Linked DNA regions of Homo sapiens: all the other regions are linked to region 5. Evidence: promoter capture Hi-C in 16 types of primary human blood cells and fetal thymus (Javierre and others, 2016). All regions are on one chromosome and are shown on one strand. Each heading gives the region's core, a stretch centred on a gene start or on the middle of the fragment in contact. The rest is flanking DNA. Distances are from core to core; before and after follow the strand shown. Region 1 holds the start of TPCN2 (two pore segment channel 2). Region 2 holds the start of MRGPRD (MAS related GPR family member D). Region 3 has its middle 32 kb from the start of MRGPRD. Region 4 holds the start of MRPL21 (mitochondrial ribosomal protein L21). Region 5 holds the start of CCND1 (cyclin D1). Region 6 has its middle 9.9 kb from the start of MIR3164.

Region 1 (4,281 bases), core at 22-2,521, 590 kb before region 5:
AAAGAGGTATGGCAGAAGGGGAAGTCACAGAGATTGGAAGCGTCTTGCAGCACCTTTTTTTTTGAGATGGAGTCTCGCTCTGTTGCCAGGCTGGAGTGCAGTGGCGCAATCTCAGCTCACTGCAATTTCCGCCTCCCGGGTTCAAGCGATTCCCCTGCCTCAGCCTCCGAGTAGCTGGGACTATAGACACGTGCCACCACGTCTGGCTAACTTTTTGTATTTCAGTAGAGACGGGGCTTCACCATGTTGGCCAGGATGGTCTCGATCTCCTGACCTCGTGATCCACCTGCCTCGGTCTCCCAAAGGGCTGGGATTACAGGCGTCTTGCTGCATCTCGAAGCGTCTTCAGCGTGCTCTTGCTTGCTGGCTCTGATGATGGAGGTGTTCAAGCCATCGTGGAAGGAATGCAGTGGCCTCTAGGAGTGAGAATGACACCAGCCAACATCCAGCAAGAAGACGTGGACTTCAGTCCTAGGCCCATGGAGACAATTCTGTTAACATCCTGGATGAGCCTGGAAGTGGGCTTTCCCCAGAGTCTGCAGATAAGAGCCCACGGCAGCTGACATTTTGACTCTAGCCTCGTGAGGCCCTGAGACAGGAGGTTTCCTGCCCCGCAGGACTGAAAGATGATGAATGGGAGTTATTTTATATTTTCAGATTGTGGTAATTAGTCACTGTAGCAATAGAAAACGAATACAAGGTCTTTATGCATTAATGTTGAAAACACTTTTTATATACGTTGTAAATATTTTTTAAGTGTGTCATATGTTTTTAAACTTTTCCCTTAATGATATTGAATCCTCCTAATTTCACCATCAGAGGGTAAACTCCAGTTCCATTCTGGGGGGAGTCCTTTGCAGTCACCCCGTGTACTCAATACTCACATGCATCAGAATCACCCCGAATGCTTGTTAAAACACAGATTCCTGGGTCCTCCCCGCAGAGTTGCTGATTTAGTAGGTTTAAGGGCCCAAGAATTTGCATTTCTAAAATGTTTCCAGGTGATGCTGAAGCTTCTGGCCGGAAAGACATCCTTTGAGAACATATTTCCTCCCCAGCCCTCGGCCCTTAAGCCCCAGAACGCTGCCCCGCCCTGGGTGGAACGAAGCTGAGCTCCACCCTAGAGGGGCGGGGCCCTTTAGCTCCGCCCCACTCAGGAGAACCCCACCCCTCCCTCCCCGTTCTCATTGGCTGGGACTGCAGGGATCCCCTGCGCCACAGTGCCGTGCGCGCGTCAGCAAAAACGCCAGGGACGGGGTCTCCGCGCCTGCGCAGTGAAGCTGGGCGCCTTCGGGGCTTGAGCTTCTGAGGGTCGGGTCCAGCGCGTGGGCTGCTGGATGGCGGAACCCCAGGCGGAGTCGGAGCCCCTGCTGGGCGGGGCCCGCGGCGGTGGCGGCGACTGGCCGGCGGGGCTGACCACTTACCGCAGCATCCAAGTCGGCCCTGGTGAGCCGCCCGGACCTGGGGAGGGGACTGGCCCGGGAGACCAGGGTCGCGCGTGGGGGTCCCGCTGTCCCAGCACCCCGCTTTCTGCCGGGCGCGCCCCCACCAGGTTCGAGTCCGAGCGGGGCCCGGGCCGCGCCGGGTGCCAGGCGAGCCGGTGTTCTGAGGGCGAGTGGGCTGCGTCCTGCGGACCCGGACCGGGGTCAGGGCAGAGCTGGGGTCTCTTCCGTGTCGCGTCCTGATCCCGACCAGCTGGGCGAAGAGGCCCTCGCCCAGCCTTGGGCAGCCCCGAGGGAACCGGCCACCTGCGGCAGGCACCCTCCGTGTGCCCGGGCGGGCCCAGACCCCATACTTCCCGACTGTCGCCGTAATGAGGGTCGCCTAATTGACTCAGAGAAGGCAGCACTTTGATTTTTCCCGTTTCTTCTGGAAAAAGCAGAGGCTCACAGAGAGGCGTTACCCTACCCAAGGTCACACACCCAGTAAGTGGCCGAGGTGGGATTCGAACCAGTTGGGAGCTAGGAGTCCTTTCTTTGTAGGGTGCCTTTCCCCGTCCCACTTCCCGTGGGGCTGGGGCGGGCCCCCTAGACGGGGGCGGCTTCCTCTCCTTGCCCTCTGCCACCCCAGAGTCCCCTCTGCACTCCCTCCTGCCCTTCCCGTTTTTTGTCCTGGTCTGAAGATTGCTGAATCCGCCCCCCGAGGGTGGGGTGCGTCCGCCCCTCGCTGACACCAGGGGAATGAGATTCTGGATTAAGAGGTGGAAGGACCTTAGCTTCACTTCACAGATGAGGAAACTGAGGCCCAGAGAGGCCCTGAGACCTGCCCAAGGTCACAGCCCTCTGTTCTGGTGCGGCTGCTGCTCGAACCACTCTGAGAATTCACACCTGGCTCCTTCCCTCTCTGGCCTCTCTTTCCTTCTTTCCTCCTCTGTCTGGAAGGAACTGGGTTGGAATCCTGGTGCCCACCCACTGGTCTGTGGCATGTGCCCATCCATGGAGTAATGAGGGGCCAAGGAGGGGACCCTGACGAGAGATGAAAAACCAGAGGCCAAGGTGGCCACCCTGTCTGCTCACCTCAGAAGCTGCCTCCAGGAAGTTCTTCAGGTGCTTCCTGGGACCAGTCAGGAAGGAGATCTGCAGGGAGCAGCTCTGGCAGGCCCCTTGATGAGACGCCCAGCATATGGCACCGTTCAGGGAACACAGACTTTGTGTCTAGGGGTCTGGGCGCCTTTCTGGGGCTGCACTGGCTGTGTGACCTTGGCAGGTTGCTTAACCTTTCTGTTTCTTTTTTGAGATGGAGTATCACTCTGTCACCCAGGCTGGAGTGCAGTGGCGTGATCTCGGCTCACTGCAGCCTCTACCTCTGCTGGGTTGAAGCGATTCTCCCGCCTCAGCCTCCCAAGTAGCTGGGACTGCAGGCGCCCGCCACCACACTTGGCTAATTTTTGTATTTTTAGTAGAGATGGGGTTTCACTGTGTTGGCCAGGGTGGTCTCAAACTCCTGACCTCGGGTGATCTGCCTGCCTCGGCCTCCCAAAGTGGTGGGATTACAGGCGTGAGCCACTGTGCCTGGCCATGCTTCACCTTTCCGAATCTCAGTAAAAGGGAGATAATACTAAGGACTGCCTGGCGGGCATTGTGAGGATTCAGAGAGAATCCAGAGTTTGTCCTCAGCACAGGGCCCGGCGGGCTGGTGTGGGGGCCAGTGGCCGTCCTGGGTAAGCTCTGTGATCATTGCAGGTCCTCCCTGGCAGGTGAGACCCGCTCTGCTGGGCAGTGTGGCTGACAAGAGGAGGCTCTCGGGGAGCGCTCTTTGTCCCTATGCTGTGGCCTCAGCCAGGGCTTCTGAGAACGTGGACAGGACGCTCTGTGTTCTGAATCCCCTTGGCCAGGGTCCCCAGCAAGGACTGGCAGACTATGGAGCCATGGAGACTCCGAAAGGCTCATTCAGTCTCTGTGCTGAGGCCTGTGCCAGGCTTTGAAATGAAGGCCCTGTGCTCTGGTTTGCAAGTCCTGTGGTTGGTCTCTTGCCAACGGGTTGTGGTGAGGGCTGCTGCTGTGGGTGCCCCAAGGACCCCAGTGGACCCTGCTGTTGGGTCGTTTTGACTTGGCCCCACCTGATGGGGCCGGGGTCAAAGGTTGAGAACAGTTGTTTTCTCTTGTTGCTGGGTCAGAAAAATCACACTTTTACTGGTTATCAAACAAGTCAGAGGACAAGGGATTGCGATGCTGTAGAGGCTTTCAGAGTAACTGAATGCTTATGAAGGGCTCACTTAGCAAAGTACTCTGGCTATAGTAAGTCATTCAGTCTGTACTTAGCTCCTATTGGGTGGGGGTCCATGAGGACCTGGAGCACCTAGAGGTTAAGGGACTTGCCCAGGGTCACAGAGGATGATGGTCAGGACCCTACACAGGTTGTGCAGCCTGGAGCCTGGAGCAACAGGGGAGCGGGAGCTCAGACCTGGATGTTGCGGGGCAGAGGCTTGGATTAGGAAGCCGTGTCGAGGCCTGGTGTGCCGGATGCAGCATCTCAGCCCCTGCTGTCCTCTGTGCCTTGCAGAACCCTTCAGCCCCAGTGGGTGATGGTGTGTGGAAAGGTGATTGTCCCCCAGGGTGATGAGCTCAGGGCGGGGCGAGCTGTCCCAAGGGAGTCCCTGGACTCACAAATTGGGGGATGGTGCTCCTGGCAGAAGCAGCAGCCTGAGTAAAGGGTTGGAGGCTTTGGAGAGCATGGCCTTGGCAGAGCCCAGTTCGGAATGAGTGGCACTGAGGGTTGAAAGGCAGGAGAGAGGCGGGCCGGCAAATGTGGGAACCTGCAGTGCCAGACCAGGGTGGAGTG
Region 2 (3,923 bases), core at 599-3,098, 660 kb before region 5:
GTGGAGCCAGCTGATGTGTGTCCCAGATGTTCCGTCTTTGGGCTTTTGGGCAAAGTGAGGGGGCCCTGGGAGGGACAGTCAGTGAGGTATGAGACTCTGGCTCTGGGGGACACTGCCTGGAAGGCTGCCCTCCACTGCCTGGGGCACTGTCCTATCAGCATCTGCTGGAGTGACTGCCAGTGAAGCCAGGCAGAGGCTCTTCCCTTCCCAGTGCGGCCTGGAGGAAAGCGAACAGGCCTGCCCTGGGTGCGAGGGGTGACAGGGTAAGGCGACCTCATAGCAAATGCCAGGGGTCAAGGGCTGGCCAGGGGTCAGAGGGATGGTGGGGCAGAGTCTCATGGCCCACAGCCAGCGAGATCCGGGTCGGCGATGGCGACACCGTTTACTTGCCAGACTTCAGGCACACCTGGGGAAAGGTGCACGGGGGCACCACCTTGGTGGCCAGTTGATGCCACCCAAGGACCAGCATAGGGCCAAAGATCACCCGAGGTCACCTGCCTCCTCCACAAAGATGCCGTCTTAGGCAGAGAAGGTGGTTGGGAGAAAGCTTTCATATTCAAATGAGATTCCTGTTATCCACCCATAGATAACCAGCTTAAAGCAGGGTAGGGCTAAAAGCTAATATTTTCCCCCAACCAGATAATCTGCTATAAACAAATAAATTGCATCTTCCAGCGGGGTTGCATTGTGAGATCCAGGACACAGGTGTTGTGGGGAGTTTTGACATGCAGGGAAGTGACCCCCACATGCAGCTGCAAAGTCCTTGGGGCTCCCCCAAGAAGGCGGGCCAGACACTTGGCAGGGACGAGGTGGGAGGCAGCTCACGGCTCGGGAATCTCCAGGGCATGGGCTCGCACAGGTGGGAAGCACCTGTGGGCGGCTCTCAAGCCCCCATCTCATTGGTGCCCACGGTGGGCGTCTCCCCACCTTCCAGCTCGGGCTCCTCGCGAAGCGCCTGTTGGAGCACAGTCCCCAGGGACCTGGTGGGCAGCCTGTGGCTCCTCCGGCTGCCCACCAGGAAGTAGATGACGGGGTTGGCGCTGCTGCTTACGGACGAGGAGAGGCGTGACAAGCTGAAGCACAGGACCTGCATCTCGGGCGGCAGGCTCAACCAGTAGAGCACAAACCAGTAGATGCTCAGAGGCAGGGAACAGATGAGGAACACCAGGACAGAGGCCAGGACCACCACGAACAGCCGTGTGGGCTGCCGCCGCCACTGCTGGGAGCTCCTCCGCACCCAGACAAAGAGGGTCAGGCTGGACAGAGTCATCACTGGGGTTAAGACCCCCATGATGAGGGCGGCCTGGACCATGTCCACCCTGAAGCACCGATCTTCATTGAATTTCAAGAACTTGCTGCAGAAGGAAGAGGTCAACCCGTTCATCAGGAGACAGAGTGTCCACAGCAGGCCACACACCCAGGCTGACAGGTGCCTGGGCCGGTGACACTTGAACCAGATAGGGAAGAGGACAGAGAGACAGCGCTGGGTGCTGATGGCCGTCAGCAGGCTCAGGCCCACTGTGTAGGCAAAGTACATCAGTCTCTTCATCAGCTCGTGGACCTTGTCAGTGGTATTGACCAGGGGCTGGGTTTCCAGGCTGAGCGTGGAAGCCATGCTGAAGAGGAAGAGGAGGTCGGCTGCCGCCAGGTTGAGGATATAGATGCAGAAGGGGTTCCTGTGCATTCGAAAGCCCAGCAGCCAGATCACCATGCTGTTGCCTGCCATCCCGCACAGGCAGGTGAACATGGCCAGGGAGCTCAGCACCAGGTAGGCCGTGTGCACTGTGCTCCCTCTGGAATAGTTTAGGGCTGACTCCACGGTCCCACTGCTATTCAAAGTCTGGTTCATCCCTACGAGAGGAAGATGTACCAATGTGAAATTCTGTGTTGCTGGGACCACGGGGGACCCCTGGGTGCCCCTCGAATTTCCAGCTTCAGAGCTCTCCCCTCCAGGTTCTTTATGTAACAGACCATGACCGGGAGGCTTAACCTTCCCCCACTCCTGTGACTCACTCAGCCCAGATCTGCCTCCAGGGTCACCTTTATAGCTACAAAGCTGTTATAAATACCCTTTATCAGGTTAAAAAATTCTCTTCTATCTTGCTTTGAATTATTTTTTAAATCATGGAGAGGTATTGAATTTTATCAAATGCTTTTTCTACATCTATTATAGAAAAATCATTATTATCAATAGATGTAGAAAAACTATTTGATAGAAACATTTGAAATCATTTTTTTTTTCTCCTGTAATTGTCAAACCCTGTGAGTTAATTAAAAAAACAATAGACCTTAGGGCTGGGCGTGGTGGTGCATGCCTGTAACCCCAGCACTTTGGGGTTTGCTTGAGGCCAGGAGTTTGAGACCAGCCTGGGCCACATAGCAAGATCTCATCTCTACAATTTTTTTTTTTAATTAGCCAGGCATGGTGGCACACACCTGTGGTCCCACCTACTTGAGAGGCCAAGGCGGGAGGATCGCTTGAGCCTGGCACATTGAGGTTGTAGTGAGCCATGGTCCCGCCACTGCACCCCAGCCTGGAAGACAGAGCGAGATGCTGTCTCTTAAAAAAAAAAAAAAATTAGACCTCAGGGCAAAGTGTAGAATTAACTACACTCCTTAGTTTAAGACACACCATGAGCATCAGCCCATTAAAAACCCTCCATTTATTCAAGTTTCCTTCCCCATCCCATCTTAGCTGCCTTTTTCCTCCTGCCGCTTGCATCCATCCAACCTGTTTCACGCAAATCCTTGGACACCTCAATATCTTTCAAGATGGAGTGGTTGCCCATTGTGTTTTAAATTTACGTAAATGTTGTGATTTAGAATTAATGATGGGTTTTTTATTTTTCACTTGACAATATGTTTGTAGGATATATCCAGGTGGCTGTATGCAAAAGTTGTGGTTTAAAATGTCATCATGCACATTGATCTGTTATCCATTCCTTACTGTGGATCCTCAGCTTGCTTCAAAATTCCCATTATCACCAAAACACTGTGTTGGACATCCTCATGCATGTACCCATTGGACTTGACTCAATATTTTTCTGGGATACATTCTTGGAGGAGGATTGCTCGGTCATAGAACATATGCACATTTAGTCTCACTAAATATTGCCTGGTAATTCTTTTTCTGAGTGGCTGCTTCAGGTTTCACCTGTACCAGCAGAATAGGAATGTTTACGTTTTCCCATTCTCTCACCAACACTTGGTGTTATTTGTTTTTCTAACTTTTGCCAACCTGATGGTTGCAAAGTGATATACTGTAGATGTTTTAACTTGCATTTCTGTGATTACAGTGAGTTTGAGCATCAATTCATATATCTGTTAGCCATTTGGAGTTCCCCTTCTTCAAATTGTCTGTTCACACCTGTTGTCCATTTTTCAATTGGGTTTCTTTTCTTTTCCTTTCTGATTTGCAAGAGTTGCTTGTATTTCTAGGTATTAATGCCTTCCTGGATTTAGACATTGCAGATACTTTTCTCTGAGAACGCTCTGTTTTTTATGGCAACTTTATCTATTGTGAACTTTGGTTGGAAGACATCCTAAATTTTGGTATAGCCAACTCTTCAGAATTTTTTTCTCTGAAATTTTGTGTCTTCTAAATCTGAAAGTATTCTGTCTCCCTGGATAAAAAATGTAGTCTTTTCTATTTTCTTCTATTACTTTTATAGTTTTTCCCATTCAGATTTTGTTCTTGGATCCAACTGGAATCTATTTTTTATGAGCTTGATTTTTCCTCCATAGTATGGATCAGCTTTCCTAACACTGTCTCCTAAACAGTCTGTCCTTTCCCTATTGACTTATTAAGTTCTCATTTACACATGGGACTGGGTTTTTAATTTCATTCTTCATTCTGTGTCATTGGTTTGTCTCTCAGTTCCTACAACATTAACACAGTGTTTTGTTTTGTTTTTTTTTTTAAA
Region 3 (3,854 bases), core at 16-2,515, 690 kb before region 5:
AAAGAGTCTTCGCAGATGTAATTAAGTAAAGGTTCTTGAGAGGAGATCATCCCGGGTTACCTGGATGGTCCCTAAATCCAATGACAGGTGTCCGTCTAAGAGACATGTGAGAAGAGAAGGAGGCTGCCTGCAAACACAGGCAGAGGCTGGCGTGGTGCAGCCACAGGCCAAGGAACGTGGAGCCCCCAGAAGCTGGAAGTGGCAGGACAGGGCCGCCCCTCGAGATTTTATCTTGAAGAGAGAGAATCAGTTTCTGGGTTTGTTGTTGTTGCTGTTTTTTGAGATGGAGTTTTGCTCTTGTTGCCCAGGCTGGAGTGCAGTGTCGCAATCTCAGCTCACTGCAACCTCCGCCTCCTGGGTTCAAGCGATTCTCCTGCCTCAGCCTCCCGAGTAGCTGGAATTACACCTGGAATGACAGGTGCCCGCCACCACACCCAGCTAATGTTTTTATACTTTTAGTAGAGACAGGTTTTTGCCATGTGGCCAGGCTAATTTCGAACTCCTGACCTCAAGTGATCCACCCGCCTCGGCCTCCCAAACTGCTAGGATTACAGGCGTGAGCCACCGCACCAGGCCGTCGCTGCTTTTGAGTCAGGGTCTCAGTGTGTGACCCAGGCTGGAGTGCACTGGTGCGATTATAGCTCACTGAAGCTTCAGCCTCCAGGGTTCAAGTGATCCACCTGCCTCAGCCTTCCAAAGGGCTGGGATTACAGGCGTGCGCCACTGCCTCTGGCCTTCTTACATCTTTTTTCCTGTTTTCTATCTCTCCATCTCTTCCTTTTTTAAACAATGAGATGTTCCTCAGCCTTATTTTCCAACCATTTTATTTTTGTTTAGGTTTTAAAAATTCACACCATTTTCCTTTCAGCATCGAAGAGCCCTTCCCTCATGTCCCTTTTTGCAGTGCTCTCCCTGTGGGGCTGCGTCTTCTCTTTTCTGTCTGTGGGTGTGGTTTTGTATTGTTTGCTGCTTTCTTTTTCCTGCAGTGTTTCGATTACAAATGGCTTCCGTCTGCCTTTCGCATCGTGGCTTTCTGCAGATTCTGGTAGTTGTCCCCTCCTATCAGCCAGGGACTGACTCTCCAAGACCGTGCGGAGGGCTCGCTGACTGTGGGCTTCACTGAGGCATCAGCTGCCCGGCCGTTGAGCCAGGGACCAGAAGTCTTTCCCCCTGGATGTGCCAGGTTGCAATCACAGTCTCTGTTCATACACCTGCTTACTCACCCTCCACTCAGTACGGGGTTCCCCCGCCCAGCTATGCCTTGGGACCCTCAGGCAGACTCATTCTGTTTTACCCACTGCAGAGCCTAGTCGGGTATTTGGTCTTTTCTCAGAGTAGAGGAGGAGGCTTCTCTGAGTAGCAGATGGGATTAGAAGATCTGATTGCTGCTGCTTTCATAAAAATTGTAAAATATCTATAACATGAAATTTAACATTTTAACCATTGTGTAAGCAAGTGTACAACTCAGCGGCATCCCTTACATTCCCAGCATTGTGCAACCATCACCACCATCTGTCTCCAGAACTTTCTCATCTTCCCACATGGAAACTCCATCCCCATCAAATACCAACCCCCCAGCCCCTGGAATCTCTGTTCATTTTCTGTCTCCATGACTGATTGCTTCTTTTAAAGACTTCCATCCACCCGCCTTATTTTAGCTCCTTCCCACCCCACTTCTTGGGCTCCCAAGGCCCCCAGTTCCTGAGCCTTTAGGTGATTCTGTGGCATCAATTTATTTAGTGGCCTTATGTAGATGTGTGTGTTCAATCCGCTAACTTTACATGGATGTTTCTCTAGATCAGGGGGTCCCAGGGGTACGGGTCCATGACCTGTTAGGAACTGGGCCTCACAGCAGGAGGTGAGTGGTGGGTGCACCCGTGAAGCTTCATCTGTATTTACAGCCACTCCTCACTGCTCGCGTCACCGCCCGAGCTCCGCCTCCCGTCAGATCAGCGGCGGCGTTAGATTCTCATAGGAGCGCGAACCCTATTGTGAACTGCGCATGCGAGGGATCCAGGCTGCGTGCTCCTTTATGAGACTCTGATGCCTGATGATCTGTCACTGTCTCCCATCACCCTAAGATGGGACTGTCTAGTTGCAGGGAAAGAAGCTCAGGGCTCCCACTGATTCTACATTATGGTGAATTGTAGAATTATTTTATTATATATTACAATGTCAATAATAGAAATAAAGTGTGCAATAAATGTCATGCGCTTGGGTCATCCTGAAATCATTCCCCCTGCCGCCCCACGGCCTGGCCCATGGAGAAATTATCTTCCACGAAACCGGTCTCTGGTGCCAAAAAGGCTGGAGACTGTTGCTCTATAATATTTAAGTTATCTTTTGCAGAGACTTTGTTTTTTGAGACAGGGTCTTGCTCTGTTGGCCAGGCTGGAGTGCAGTGGCACAATCACGGTTCATTGTAGCCTCGACCTCCTGGGCTCCAGAGATCCTCCCACCTCAGCTTCCTGAGTAGCTGGGACTACAGACACATGCCACCATGCCCAGATAATTTTTTAAAAAAATTTTTAGTAGAGATAGGGTCTTTGTTGCCCAGACTGGTCTGCTGGGCTAAGTGATTCTCTCACCTCAGCCTCCCAAAGTGTTGGGGTTACAGGCGTGAGTCACCACACCTGGCCCTTTGCAGATACTTTGTAAACAACCAGTAGAATCATTTTATAATCACATTATATTACATAATCATTTAATGTTAGTGCTTAATGACAAAAGTTGGATATAAAACTACAAAATCAGCATGCTCAACGTACGCCAAACACACATATATGCATAGAAAAGATGGAGCTGGGTGTGGTGGCGCACACCTGTAGTCCGAGCTACTCAGGAAGCCAAGGCAGGAGGATCGCTTGAGCCCAGGAGTCCCAGGCCAGCCTGGGTAAACATAGTGAGACCTTGGCTCTAAAATTAAAAAAAGAAAAAGAAAAGATACAAAGGCATATGGCCATTGTAAACACCTCTGATCTTTGGGATTTGGTGTGATTCTTGGTCTCTCGTTTATAGCTAAAAAAAAAAAAAGTTTCTCCAATGATGAATGTTGGTTCTATAATCAGAACAGGACAATTCCTGCTGGTTTTCCAGTTAGGCAGCTGATGGGGTCGCAGCTGCTCCCATTTTTCAGCAAGTGCCAAGGAAAGGCCAGATTTCCAGTGGGTCTGGGGTCCTCCACATTCTTTCTCCATCCCAGGCCTGTGTGGTCTCGGTGGCTGTGGGCTGGGGTGAGCCAGAGTTGGGCAGTGAGGAGAGGGAAATTGGCCCAGTTTGTGTCTTAGAAAAGTCCCTCTGGTGGCTGCCTTGAGGAGGTGTCTGAGGTGGAAAACCTGCCAGCAGCTATAGTCTGGAGAAGTCAGAGTCAGGTGGGGTACACAGGGGCGCATCTGCTGACTATGCATGGGCTCAGTCATCAGAACTTGCAGACTGGCCTCCTGCAGGGGTGAGGGGCTGGGAAGATCCCCACGCTTCCGGCTTGGGGGACGAGTGACTTTAATGGCTCACAAAGCACTGTCCAAATGTTCTTAATAATAAGAATTGTATTTCTTTCTTGTTTAATGCACATATGCTACCCAGAAGTCCCACACTCCTGGAAATGCATGTATATGCAGAATTCCGGGTTTTCTAGTGATGTCAGGCTGATTGGCATCTACCAGACAGTTCTACTGAGACCTGGGGCCCCTCGCCATGAGCAGAAGCAGGGAAGGCTGCAGCCCCCCTGGGGTAGGAGCTCTTTGTCCTCATTGTAGCAGCGGTGGATGCAGCTCTCAGCCTGGCCCTTTCAAAGTCAGCCGGATAGGGTCGGAGTTCCTCCTGTCACTTGGGTCAGCCGGACAGGGGCCGAGCTC
Region 4 (4,032 bases), core at 801-3,300, 740 kb before region 5:
CTATCTATCTGCCTTAGCCACTCGTGTCTGACGAGCACCTCACACCTCCAGAGGCTCCTCATTTCTTCCCATGCCTGCTTCTCCCACACTCCTCCCTCTCACATGAGGGCAACTTCATCCTCCCAGTTGCTCAGGCCCCAAACCTCCATCAGTTTTGACTCTTCTCTCGCACACTACTCAGTCAACCCATTGGCAAATCCATCCCACTATTAAAAACTTAGCAGGCTTCTGTACCTAATTTGCTTCTAGCTTTGTTTTTGGGTCCCCAGGGAACAAACAGTCTCCTTCCTCTCCCACAGGATTTCCTTTAGGTAGTCCTAGAGACTGTGACTGTGTACTTCCATCACGTCTCCTTTGCTCACTCTTCAAGGCCCCAGCTGCTCACTGTTTTGGTCACCTTGTCTCTACTCGCTTCACTGTGTGTCTTTCTCTCCTAATGCGTGAGTCTGTACTTGAACATAGCATTGGAGGGGTGGTTTCATGTAGGTAGGTAGAATGGAGTAAGTCCCACTGCTTTTGTAAAAACTTTCCTGCCTACTTAAACCTAAGTTTTATTATGGAAAATGTCAAGCATACAAAAGTAAAGAGAACAGAATAGTGAACTCTCTCAATTATCCCTTTCCAGGTTCAACAGTTACCAACTCATGGCCAATTTTGGCATCTACATTGCCTCTGGCCCAACTCTGTGATTATTATTAATTTCTTAATAGACTTTATTTTTTAGCACAGTTTTAGTTTCACACCAAAATTGAGTGGAAGGTACAGAGAGTTCCCATATGTCCCCTGTCCATGTGCCCACAGCTTCCTATCAACATCCCTCACCAGAGTGGTACAATCTTTACAATTGATGAACCTACATTGACACATCATTGTTATCCAAAGTCCATAGTCTACATTAGGGGTTCACCCTTGGTAGTGTACATTCTATGGATTTGGACAAACTTATAATGACATGTATCTACCATTATATCATACAGAATAGTTTCACTGCCCTAAAAATCCTCTGAGCTCCACCTATTTATCCTTTTCTCCCCCAATCCTCTTACCCCCCATGTAACTTTTTACTGTCTCCTTAGATTTGCCTTTTCCAGAATGTCATAGTGGGAAACATACAAGATGTCCCCTTTTCAGGTTGGCTTCTTTTACTTAGTAACATGTATGTAAGTTTCCTCCATGTCTCTTCATGACTCATTTCTTTTTATTGCTGCATAATATTCTACTGTATGGATGTCCTACAGTTTATGTAACCATTCATCTCCTGAAGGACATCTGGGTTGCTTCCAAGTTTTGGGAATTATGGTACTATTCTTTTAATATCGTCCAATATAGAGTTAGATCCAGTTTTCCATTTTTGGGGGTCATGGTGAGACATGAAACCCAGGTTTAAAACATACATAAACACTCATGCACACAAATACACACTCCAACCATTTTCAAGCAGAGATTTATAGAGTTTTTAACGGACATAACCTTTTTGGAGCCTCGTATCAGCCCAGCGCCTTAAATACGGCTGTTTCTTTTGCAGAATGAGTTCAGATTAGGCGAGGATATCCATCACCATTTTTCAGACCAGCTCGCAGCCTGGGGGCAGTGGTTCAAGCACAGGCTTTGGAGCCGAAATGACTGCGCCTGAAGTACTCTTCTTCCACTTCCCCGCTGTGTGACCCTGGGCACGTTACCTAGCTCCTCTGAGCCTCACTCTTCTCCCCCATAACATAGGGCCTATACCAAAGTTCAAGGGCTATTGTCAGTATTCAGGCTACTAACTGAAGGAATCAAAATCTGAACCTGGGTTCCCCCGACTCCAAAACCCGTGCTATATTCACCACAAATGCGATCAACACACAAGGCACCAGGTCGGACCCAGGCACATACGTGGCGAGACCGCAGGGAGCAGCGCTCGCTCTGCGTCCTCCCTTCCTCCCATATCCCAGGTCTCACCTGCTCCGGGCCCCGAAGGTCTCAGGATGCTGTGGCTGCACGCGGACGCCAGCCGCCCTAAGGTGACCGTCAGGGAAGATGCTGCCATGGCCGCAGCCTCGGCCGGAAACGGAAACGACGCGAACCGCGTGCGTAACGCACGGGCCCGGCGGGGAACACCGGTCCGCTGTAACACCGGCCCGGCGCAGAAGCGGGACGTCGGCTTCTAGGGGCCCAGGCCGGCGGCGGCGATGGCCTCGGCAGCTGTGGAGAGCTTCGTGACCAAGCAACTGGACCTGCTGGAGCTTGAGAGAGACGCGGAGGTGGAGGAGCGCAGGTACGGGAGGCCGCCGGCGCCGCTCCCTCGCGGTCGGTCCCGCCGTGTCCCGGGCAGAGTCTCCGAGGGGCTCGGCCTCATAGTCTGGGGCGGGAATTTCGTCTCCGACCCTTCGAGTCAGGGGCAGGGATCGTCCGTCCCCTGCTTGGCCACCTCCCGAGTTGTCAGTCTCATCACTTCCTGGGCAGCGCGTTCCGTTTGGGGACCCTTAAGAAGCACTTTGATTTCCCGACCCGAGACCCCCCACTAAGCTTACACTCCTGGGCCCTGGCCCCGACCCCAGTTCCACCCGCAGCGAGTTAGCAGCCCTTTCCCTTATTCATTCAGTAAACATGGTTTGCGCCCATTCTCAGTCAGGCCCCGGCAGCATGAGTCAGGTGCACTGGCTGCCCCCGATCCGGCCAGCGGCGGGCTGGGCATAAGCAGAGAGTCCCTTCCCCTCCAGTGCGTCCAGGGCCGGCTGCGTGCGTGTCGCGGGGAAAGAGCCTGGAGGAGGAAGGCCCTTCCCTGGGGAGGGTCATGGTGGCTTCAAGGAGGGAGTGGTGCCTGAAGGAAAATTGGAGTTAAGCTGGTGGGTGCGGAGTAGGGTGGGGAGCCGTCCTGAGAGGTGTGGGGAGCCATGTGAGAGCCGGGCTTGTTTCCGAATGGGACTATTTACTTGTCCAAAACAATCAGAGCTAACACTTACGTACTTTCCATGCGTTAATTCTTTTACACCTCATCCCATGCCAACCCTACAGTGTAAGTTTCTTTTTTTTCTTTTTCTTTTTTTTTTTTTTAGACAGAGTCTCTCTCTGTCGCCCAGGCTGGAGTGCAGTGGCACGATCTCGGCTTACTGCAGCTTCCATCTCCCGGGTTCAAGCGATTCTCCTGCCTCAGCCTCCTGAGTGGCTGGGACTACAGGCGCGCCACCACGTCCTGCTAATTTTTTGTATTTTTAGTAGAGACAGGGTTTCACCATGTTGGCCAGGATGGTCTCGATCTCCTGACCTCGTGGTCTGCCCGCCTTGGCCTCCCAAAGTGTTGGGATTACAGGCGTGAGCCACCGTGCCCGGCCGCAGTGTAGGTTTCTGTTACTGTCATTTTCCGTCTAAGGAGATGGAGACAGAGAGGGGTTAAGTAACTTGCCCCGGGGTGACACAGTGTAGCCCGATTTGCTGTCAGGCAGTCTGCTTCCAGAGTTTGCAGTCAGCCATATGTGGGTAGGATTTGTCTGAGATGCTTTTGATCATGGCAATGGAGAGCTTTTGCAGTTATGTTGAGTTTCTTAGAATCCCAGCTGTTTCATTTATGGCTGTGTGACTTTGCAGGTTCTGTCTCTGAGCCTTACTTACTTCATCTGTAAAACTGGGATGATTCCCACCTCACAGGCTTGCTCTGAGAATGAAACGATCCCCTGTCAGTCAGGTGCTCAGCGTGGTGCCAAGGACAGAGTCAGCCCCCATGGCAGTGGCTCTTTCTGAGGATGCTGAGCAGACTGGCAGGGCGAGCCTGGGAAGGGCCTGGCTAAGGAGCTAGTCTTCTGTTCTGTGTATGAAGGATGGGCCATCAGCGGGGTTAAGCAGGTGAGGGAGGCGAATAGCTTTGCATTTTAGGAGGATTTCTTGGGTCTCCTGCTTTTGATTGGACGTGGAGAGGCCAGAGGTAAGGTAGTTGAGAGGCTCTGTTTAGTCCAGGTGAGCAGTGATGTGGATTTGAACCGGGGCTGTGGCAGCCAGGATGAGAGGCAGAGAAGTCCAGGTAGAAATGGGAGGGGCCTGATAGGACTTAGTGAC
Region 5 (3,925 bases), core at 722-3,221:
CTCCCTCCTGGACCCAGAGCCGGTTGTGCCGGAGTGGGCGAGCCTCTTTATGCCCTGCTGCCCCTAGCCGACTTCGGCCCGCTTCGCGCCTCGGGCTGGGCCAGGGCGCACGCGGGGCTCGGGGCCCCTCGCCCCACGGGATGGGAGAGGCCGGGTGATAGCTCCGGGCCCCATAAATCATCCAGGCGGCCGCCGGGTCGGGATTTTATGAATGAAAAAGCAGCTGGGCCGCCCTTGTGCGCGGGCTGATGCTCTGAGGCTTGGCTATGCGGGGGCCAACGCGATTGTGGGTGCTCGGGGAGTGGGGGGGGGCACGACCGTAGGTGCTCCCTGCTGGGGCAACCCATCGCTCCCCATGCGGAATCCGGGGGTAATTACCCCCCCAGGACCCGGAATATTAGTAATCCTAATTCCCGGCGGGGGAGGGGGCGCGGGAGGAATTCACCCTGAAAGGTGGGGGTGGGGGGGGTCGCATCTTGCTGTGAGCACCCTGGCGAAGGGGAGAGGGCTTTTTCTATCAGTTTTCTTTGAGCTTTTACTGTTAAGAGGGTACGGTGGTTTGATGACACTGAACTATATTCAAAAGGAAGTAAATGAACAGTTTTCTTAATTTGGGGCAGGTACTGTAAAAATAAAAACAAAAGTTAAGACAGTAAAATGTCCTTTTATTTTTTAATGCACCAAAGAGACAGAACCTGTAATTTTAAAAACTGTGTATTTTAATTTACATCTGCTTAAGTTTGCGATAATATTGGGGACCCTCTCATGTAACCACGAACACCTATCGATTTTGCTAAAAATCAGATCAGTACACTCGTTTGTTTAATTGATAATTGTTCTGAATTATGCCGGCTCCTGCCAGCCCCCTCACGCTCACGAATTCAGTCCCAGGGCAAATTCTAAAGGTGAAGGGACGTCTACACCCCCAACAAAACCAATTAGGAACCTTCGGTGGTCTTGTCCCAGGCAGAGGGGACTAATATTTCCAGCAATTTAATTTCTTTTTTAATTAAAAAAAATGAGTCAGAATGGAGATCACTGTTTCTCAGCTTTCCATTCAGAGGTGTGTTTCTCCCGGTTAAATTGCCGGCACGGGAAGGGAGGGGGTGCAGTTGGGGACCCCCGCAAGGACCGACTGGTCAAGGTAGGAAGGCAGCCCGAAGAGTCTCCAGGCTAGAAGGACAAGATGAAGGAAATGCTGGCCACCATCTTGGGCTGCTGCTGGAATTTTCGGGCATTTATTTTATTTTATTTTTTGAGCGAGCGCATGCTAAGCTGAAATCCCTTTAACTTTTAGGGTTACCCCCTTGGGCATTTGCAACGACGCCCCTGTGCGCCGGAATGAAACTTGCACAGGGGTTGTGTGCCCGGTCCTCCCCGTCCTTGCATGCTAAATTAGTTCTTGCAATTTACACGTGTTAATGAAAATGAAAGAAGATGCAGTCGCTGAGATTCTTTGGCCGTCTGTCCGCCCGTGGGTGCCCTCGTGGCGTTCTTGGAAATGCGCCCATTCTGCCGGCTTGGATATGGGGTGTCGCCGCGCCCCAGTCACCCCTTCTCGTGGTCTCCCCAGGCTGCGTGTGGCCTGCCGGCCTTCCTAGTTGTCCCCTACTGCAGAGCCACCTCCACCTCACCCCCTAAATCCCGGGGGACCCACTCGAGGCGGACGGGGCCCCCTGCACCCCTCTTCCCTGGCGGGGAGAAAGGCTGCAGCGGGGCGATTTGCATTTCTATGAAAACCGGACTACAGGGGCAACTCCGCCGCAGGGCAGGCGCGGCGCCTCAGGGATGGCTTTTGGGCTCTGCCCCTCGCTGCTCCCGGCGTTTGGCGCCCGCGCCCCCTCCCCCTGCGCCCGCCCCCGCCCCCCTCCCGCTCCCATTCTCTGCCGGGCTTTGATCTTTGCTTAACAACAGTAACGTCACACGGACTACAGGGGAGTTTTGTTGAAGTTGCAAAGTCCTGGAGCCTCCAGAGGGCTGTCGGCGCAGTAGCAGCGAGCAGCAGAGTCCGCACGCTCCGGCGAGGGGCAGAAGAGCGCGAGGGAGCGCGGGGCAGCAGAAGCGAGAGCCGAGCGCGGACCCAGCCAGGACCCACAGCCCTCCCCAGCTGCCCAGGAAGAGCCCCAGCCATGGAACACCAGCTCCTGTGCTGCGAAGTGGAAACCATCCGCCGCGCGTACCCCGATGCCAACCTCCTCAACGACCGGGTGCTGCGGGCCATGCTGAAGGCGGAGGAGACCTGCGCGCCCTCGGTGTCCTACTTCAAATGTGTGCAGAAGGAGGTCCTGCCGTCCATGCGGAAGATCGTCGCCACCTGGATGCTGGAGGTGCGGGGCTTCGGGCGGCTCTCTTAAGACTTCCCTGCAACTTGTTGCCCAGACCCACGTTTCTTTGCTACTCACCCCCCTCCCTTCTCTCCCGCTAGAACTTTGAAGTTTGCCGTGGTGTTTCTAGGGATCCGTATTTTCAAAATAAAAATTGCGGGTATTTTCTGAAGGAGGAAGGGGTGGGGGTGGGGGTGCTAGAAGTAGCGTTTCGTGGGAGGGGAGAAGGGGGTCCGGGAGGGGTGCCTTCGGGAGAAGCCAGTGCCAGGGGCACCCCAATGGGCCCGAGGGTGCGGGCTGGCAGGCTGGGTGCGCTTTGTGTCCCCCGCCTGCGCCCCAGCCCGGCTGCGCCTCAGCGGCCGGGAGCCGCCAACTCCGGGGGGAGGGGGCATAGATTTGATTTTTAAATTAATATCCATGGACACGTATGCAAGGGCCGCTCGTGCCAGTATTATGCGCCATCTTTGCTCTTTTATTGCAAAGCAAAAGTGTTTATTAATAATTGGGGGCAGGGTGGGGGCGGGGAGCGGCCGCCGGGCGCTGGGGCCGCAGCTAAGGGCCGCGCGGCTGCCGGGAGCCCGCGGGAGGGGCGCAGGGACGCGGCATGGGTAGTTTTGGGGGGACGCCGCTAGGGAAGGGGGGGCCTTTGTTCAAGCAGCGAGTCCCGGGGCGCCCCGAACGGGCAGCCTGGGCCGGAGAGCACGGCGAGCTGCAAGGTCGCGTGGCCCCCAAGACGCCAGGGCTTGATCCCCGTCTGCAGGGATATCGGCTTGGAGGACCTTCTCCGAGCGAGCCGGGGGCCTGGGAGCACATTTTCAGACCTTCGGTGGGCGCCTGAGGGGCCCGCAAGTATTTTAAAATAATTTTTGAAAGTGCGGCGTGGTGCCCTTGCGAGAGGGAAACGCCGCCCGCGCCCAGGGGGAAGGGGGGGCCCCGGAGTTTGAATTCCTGGGGCTCCCCCCGGAGCCTGTAACGAACTCCCAACCCCCGGCCTGGGTAAAGGGTCGCCCGAGGGTCATTTTCAGGGTTTTTTTATGCACTTAGTTATTTTTTTAATATTTTTAAATATTTTTTGAAAAGATGACGTCTGGGGAAATGCGGCGCGGCGGCCTGGGACGCCACCTTTGTGTCTCGCAGGCGCGGCGCCCAACCCCGCGGCCCGTTCCGCGGCCCCGCACCCCAGTTGGTGTCGACCCCCAGTCAGAGGGACCACGGAGCTCCAGGGCGGGCCAGGGTCCCGGGGGCCGGCAGCCCGCGCCGCCGCGCACGCCGCCCAGCTGTGCCCGCTCCCGCCCCCACCGTGCCAGCCTCGCGGGGACTTTCCCTTTCAGTTTCGGGGAGGGTGGGTACTGGGGACGCGCGGGGGAGGGGGCGCATCACGGGAAGCTCCTGCCGCCCCCAGCCCCGACCCCTCGGCGCCCTCCAGACCTGGCGGCCCTGCCAAGCGCGATGGGGGGTGCGGGGGCGTGCGGGGGGGCGGCGCGACCTGGCGGCGGCGGTCACGGGCCCCGTGCCTCCGTAGGTCTGCGAGGAACAGAAGTGCGAGGAGGAGGTCTTCCCGCTGGCCATGAACTACCTGGACCGCTTCCTGTCGCTGGAGC
Region 6 (4,008 bases), core at 187-2,686, 550 kb before region 5:
GTGTGATCATGGCTCACTGCAGCCTCCAACTTGTGGGCTCAAGCAGTCCTCCTACCTTGGCCTCCTGAGTAGCTGTAACTACAGGCACATGCCACCAGGTCTGGCTAATTGTTTTATTTCTTGTAGAGATGGAGTATCTCTATGTTGCCCAGGCTATTCTTGAATTCCTAGGCTCAAGTGATCCTCCCACCTTGGCCTCCCAAAGTGCTGAGATTACAGGTGTGAGTCACTGCACCTGGCCTGCCCTGAGATTATATACTGAAATCAATTGCTTTTCTAGACACTAGCAATAAGCTTATAAATTATATTCAAGGATTCAGTTATATTCATTTTTTAAAAGATATTTAAATAAGATTAAAAATTCTTAAAGTTTCTAAAAATAAATGGAAGGAAAGATATTCAAGGCCTATATACAGAAAACTATAAAACTTCATTAAAGCCCATGACTGTAGATACAAGTAAATTGAGACTATGTAGTTTTCTGTTGCTGTGTAACAAGTCCCCACATACTTGGTAGCTTATCACAACCTCATTTCTTAGCTCCAAGCTGCAGGTCAGACATCCAGGCACGGCTTGGTAGGTCCTCCGTTCAGCAGAAATTGGGGTGTCAGTGGGCTGGGTTCCTTCTGGGAGCTCCGGGGAAGAGTCTGCTCCCATACTCACTTGGGTTGTTGGCCAAATGCAGTTGCTTGCAGGTGTTGGGCTGATGTCCGTTTCCTGCTGGCTGTCAGCCAGGGGCTGCTCTTAGGGACTAGAGGCCACCCACATTCCTTGCCATAGGGTCCCCTCCATCTTCAAAGTCAGCAACAAAGAAGCTGCCTCACATTGACTCCCACTCACCCTTTGAATCTCTAGGAAAAGCCTGTGTGGTTTACAGTTTCACCTGATTAGGTCAGACCCACCAGGACAACTGCCCATCCTTAAAAGTCCTGTGTGCCACCTAACATATCCCAATTCCGGGAGTGACTTATTCACGGGAGGAGATTATGTAAGGGTAAGGATCACTGGGGTCATCTTGGAATTCTGGCCACCACAGTTTTTCTATCTTCATGGTCAAAAAGAATTGATATTGTAAAAATGTCAGCCTTCTCCAATTTCATCCATACATTCATTATAATTCTAAACATAATGCCATTTTTTTCCCACAAAATTTGATAAGTTGATTGAAAAATTAACATGAAAGTACAAAAACAAGAGCAAAAATCCTTTCTGTGGGAGAATCCAGTTGAGGGAATTGCTGCTCCATTATTCCTGACTTACATTGCTGGGACAGCAGCCACAGCAGTGTGGTCCTGGTGCAGGAGCTAATCGGCTAAGGGGAGAGAGCCCGGGAGCCCCGCACACCGGCGCAAGGGCGAATCTACTAAGGGGAGAGAGCCCGGGAGCCCCGCACACCGGCGCAAGGGGCGGATCGGCTAAGGGGAGAGAGCCCGGGAGCCCTGCACAAATGCGGAACTGCGACGGATGGCAGCAAACCCGCAGGGAAGGGATTGTTATTTAATAAATGCTGCCAGAAATTCCAGCCCAGGTGGGAAAAGAAAGAAATAAGTTCCCTGTTTCACACCTAACACAAAAGTACATACCGACTGGAGGCGGGCTTAAGTGTGAAAAGCAAGTTTTAGAACGTTTAGAAGATGAACTCAATATATTTAAATTAAGAACTTCTTTCTTTAAAAAAGGCCATAAAATAGGCAAGCCACACACTGGGAGAAGATTTTGGTAACTGAGAACAACTAAGAACTTATATCCAGACCACATAAAGAGTACCTACAAATTAGGAAGAAAAAGACAAAGCAGTAGAAAGTTGGGCTTTTCACAGAAAAGCAAACACCCGGGTTCCATAGCTATGTCAAAAGTTGCTCCGTCTTACTAGTTATTAGGAATATGCAAAATGAAACTGAAACACAACATTTCACTCACTCCATGGTCAAAATGGAAGAGGTTGGACCATCTTAATTGTTAGTACTTACATGTTTATTCTGAAGAGTCAAGCTAAGCTGAAACAACCTCTTTGGAAAATTGTTTGGTGTCATTTCTTGCAATTGAATAGGACATACCTTGGTAATTCTCTGCTAGATACACTCACAAGAGAAACTGCTGCCCGTGTGCACTGGAAGACGGTCGGCAGAGTGATCCTAAGAGCAGTATCAGTACTAGCAACACATCTGCCAGCTGAAACGTCCTCAACAGAATGACAGGTACGCTGCAGCTTGGTGACAGTGGAGTATTACACGGCCGTGAACATGAATGAACTCCAGCTGCAAAGAGCTACCTGGAAGAATCTTAGAAACATAATGTTGGGTGAACAAGTTCCAGAAGTCTCCACACGGCACGGTATTATTCATGTAAAATTCAAAAGCAAGGTTAAACAACATACCATGTAGGCACGCATACATCAGTGATGAGGTTACTTCAACACAAGACAGCCTGAAGCCTGTGGTCCAGTCAGTGCTGAGATTACTTCAACACAAGACTCCCAGAAGCCTATGGTCTGGTCAGTGCTGAGATTACTTCAACACAAGACGCCCAGAAGCCTATGGTCCGGTCAGTGCTGAGATTACTTCAACACAAGACGGCCAGAAGCTTATGGTCTGGTTAGTGCTGAGATTACTTCAACACAAGATGGCCAGAAGCCTATGGTCCAGGGAGCGGCCACCTCTTGGGGAAATGGGGATGGGATGGGAAGGGACTGACTGCCATGAGCAAGTTCCAGGGGAAGTTCTTGTCCTGGCGGGGCTGGGCAGGGCTCATGGTCATGGTATTAACCTTAGGAACATGCACATGTTACATGTGTTCTTTTGCATGTGCCAAATATTAAAAGGAGAGCGAGAGGAGAGGCACTGAAGACAGTGAGGATGGACGGCCCTCAGGGAATCTCGCTGCAAAGGGGAGGCGGGGTCAAGAGGATATTGTGGTGGTTTTCACGTGGGAGGATCCTGTGTGGACTGATGTGGAAGACCCAGGGAAGAGCCAGAGAAGTGACAAAGCAGGAATGAGGAGGCCAGGCAGGGGTCAGCCACAGGGACGTTGCTGGGCAGTGGCAGGAGGTGCAGTGCCAGGGGCAGCAGTGGGGCAGAAGTGGGGCGGGGCTTGGCAGGGCTGGGCAGGGCCGGGCTGGCAGGTCCTCTGCCCCCAGGGCTCAAGCACAGGGCTGACCAGAGCAGCAGTTCTGCCGGCCCCGCAGGCCTGGTATCACTAGTGGGAGCACTCAGTGGCCATCAGGTTCCTCTCCCAGGTTCCCTCCCACATGCTGTCCCCAGTGCAGGTGGCTGGATGGGGTCCAAGACCCATGCCCAGTCTGTCGCTGGGGCCTGGGAGCGGGGTCTTAGCGAGCAGGCTGGGGCCTTTCATGTGGTCTCTGTCCAGCTGGGCACAGCAGGGGGAATCTTCCCTACTGCCAGAACGGCTTGGATTGGGTTTCCCGCCTGAGATAATTAGTGGTTCTTAGGAAAAGGTTAGAAGAGTTCTTGCTTAAAAACCACCAAATGGGACTGGGCACACTGCACTGCTCCTAAAAATCAAAGAGGAGGCGTGGAGCCCAGACAACACTCCTCACATCAAAGTGGCCAGCAGACGGCCCAGGGCAGCGGGCACAGCCTCCTGCACGCCTCTCCCCAGCCCTCTACTCACGTTTCAGGGTGTGTGTGGGGGGCCAGCTATTCTTCTGAGTAATTCAATCGGAGCCTCACAGGGTGGTGGGACCCACACCTGTGGGGGTTCTGGGTAGGCCTGGGTGCCTCCACAGTTCCGACCACAGTTGGCTAATCCACACCTGGGCCTGGGCCCCAGCAGCACCTGTTGCCAGGTGAGCCTGCCTGCCTGCCTCCCAGGCCCTGCAGGTTGTGGCCTTTTTAAGCACAGCTGACGGGCACACTGACTTGTGAGGTGGGCGGGGGCCCAATAACACAAGTCCATGGTGAACATTATAGAGTGGTTCTTATTTCTGAAGCTGAGACCTATGCAGTGCCGGGCAGGTGTCTGCCAGCGCCCCTCAGACATGAGCGTGCG

The links. The method cuts DNA at HindIII sites, captures the fragments that hold promoters and counts their contacts. A CHiCAGO score of 5 or more calls a contact.
Region 1: the fragment with the promoter of TPCN2 here is called in contact with the fragment with the promoter of CCND1 in region 5 in 7 of 17 cell types (activated CD4 T cells, non-activated CD4 T cells, total CD8 T cells and 4 more); the score reaches 8.9 in activated CD4 T cells.
Region 2: the fragment with the promoter of MRGPRD here is called in contact with the fragment with the promoter of CCND1 in region 5 in 1 of 17 cell types (monocytes); the score reaches 5.1 in monocytes.
Region 3: a fragment that was not itself captured here is called in contact with the fragment with the promoter of CCND1 in region 5 in 1 of 17 cell types (M1 macrophages); the score reaches 5.4 in M1 macrophages.
Region 4: a contact is called between the fragment with the promoter of MRPL21 here and the fragment with the promoter of CCND1 in region 5, in 3 of 17 cell types (megakaryocytes, M1 macrophages and total B cells). The highest score is 7.1, in megakaryocytes.
Region 6: a contact is called between a fragment that was not itself captured here and the fragment with the promoter of CCND1 in region 5, in 16 of 17 cell types (naive CD4 T cells, activated CD4 T cells, erythroblasts and 13 more). The highest score is 16.0, in naive CD4 T cells.

Annotation. Positions count from the first base shown.
Region 1 is chr11:69,047,661-69,051,941 of GRCh38, forward strand. TPCN2 (two pore segment channel 2) reads left to right here and starts at 1,272. Exons shown (of 25, transcript NM_139075.4): 1 at 1,272-1,446. The coding sequence starts at 1,338. RefSeq lists silencers at 1,010-1,229, 1,350-1,519, 1,600-1,699 and an enhancer at 3,676-4,250. The HindIII fragment of the contact is 3,554 bases long and covers 1,012-4,281 here.
Region 2 is chr11:68,979,138-68,983,060 of GRCh38, forward strand. It overlaps MRGPRD (MAS related GPR family member D), which reads right to left and starts at 1,849. Exons shown (of 1, transcript NM_198923.2): 1 at 884-1,849. The coding sequence starts at 1,849. The coding sequence ends at 884. RefSeq lists an enhancer at 829-1,338. The HindIII fragment of the contact is 14,944 bases long and covers 546-3,923 here.
Region 3 is chr11:68,947,181-68,951,034 of GRCh38, forward strand. No RefSeq gene overlaps it. Among named protein-coding and RNA genes, the nearest start is that of MRGPRD, 32 kb to the right of the region's middle. RefSeq lists an enhancer at 1-319. The HindIII fragment of the contact is 1,232 bases long and covers 650-1,881 here.
Region 4 is chr11:68,901,782-68,905,813 of GRCh38, forward strand. MRPL21 (mitochondrial ribosomal protein L21) reads right to left here and starts at 2,051. Exons shown (of 7, transcript NM_181514.2): 1 at 1,942-2,051. The coding sequence starts at 2,029. IGHMBP2 (immunoglobulin mu DNA binding protein 2) reads left to right here and starts at 2,110. Exons shown (of 15, transcript NM_002180.3): 1 at 2,110-2,257. The coding sequence starts at 2,172. RefSeq lists enhancers at 1,924-2,651, 2,083-2,202, 2,533-2,592. The HindIII fragment of the contact is 5,018 bases long and covers 1-2,506 here.
Region 5 is chr11:69,639,185-69,643,109 of GRCh38, forward strand. CCND1 (cyclin D1) reads left to right here and starts at 1,972. Exons shown (of 5, transcript NM_053056.3): 1 at 1,972-2,327; 2 at 3,847-3,925. The coding sequence starts at 2,130. RefSeq lists enhancers at 1-735, 2,243-2,945 and silencers at 3,568-3,707, 3,798-3,857. The HindIII fragment of the contact is 14,749 bases long and covers 1-3,925 here.
Region 6 is chr11:69,091,071-69,095,078 of GRCh38, forward strand. No RefSeq gene overlaps it. Among named protein-coding and RNA genes, the nearest start is that of MIR3164, 9.9 kb to the left of the region's middle. The HindIII fragment of the contact is 2,289 bases long and covers 293-2,581 here.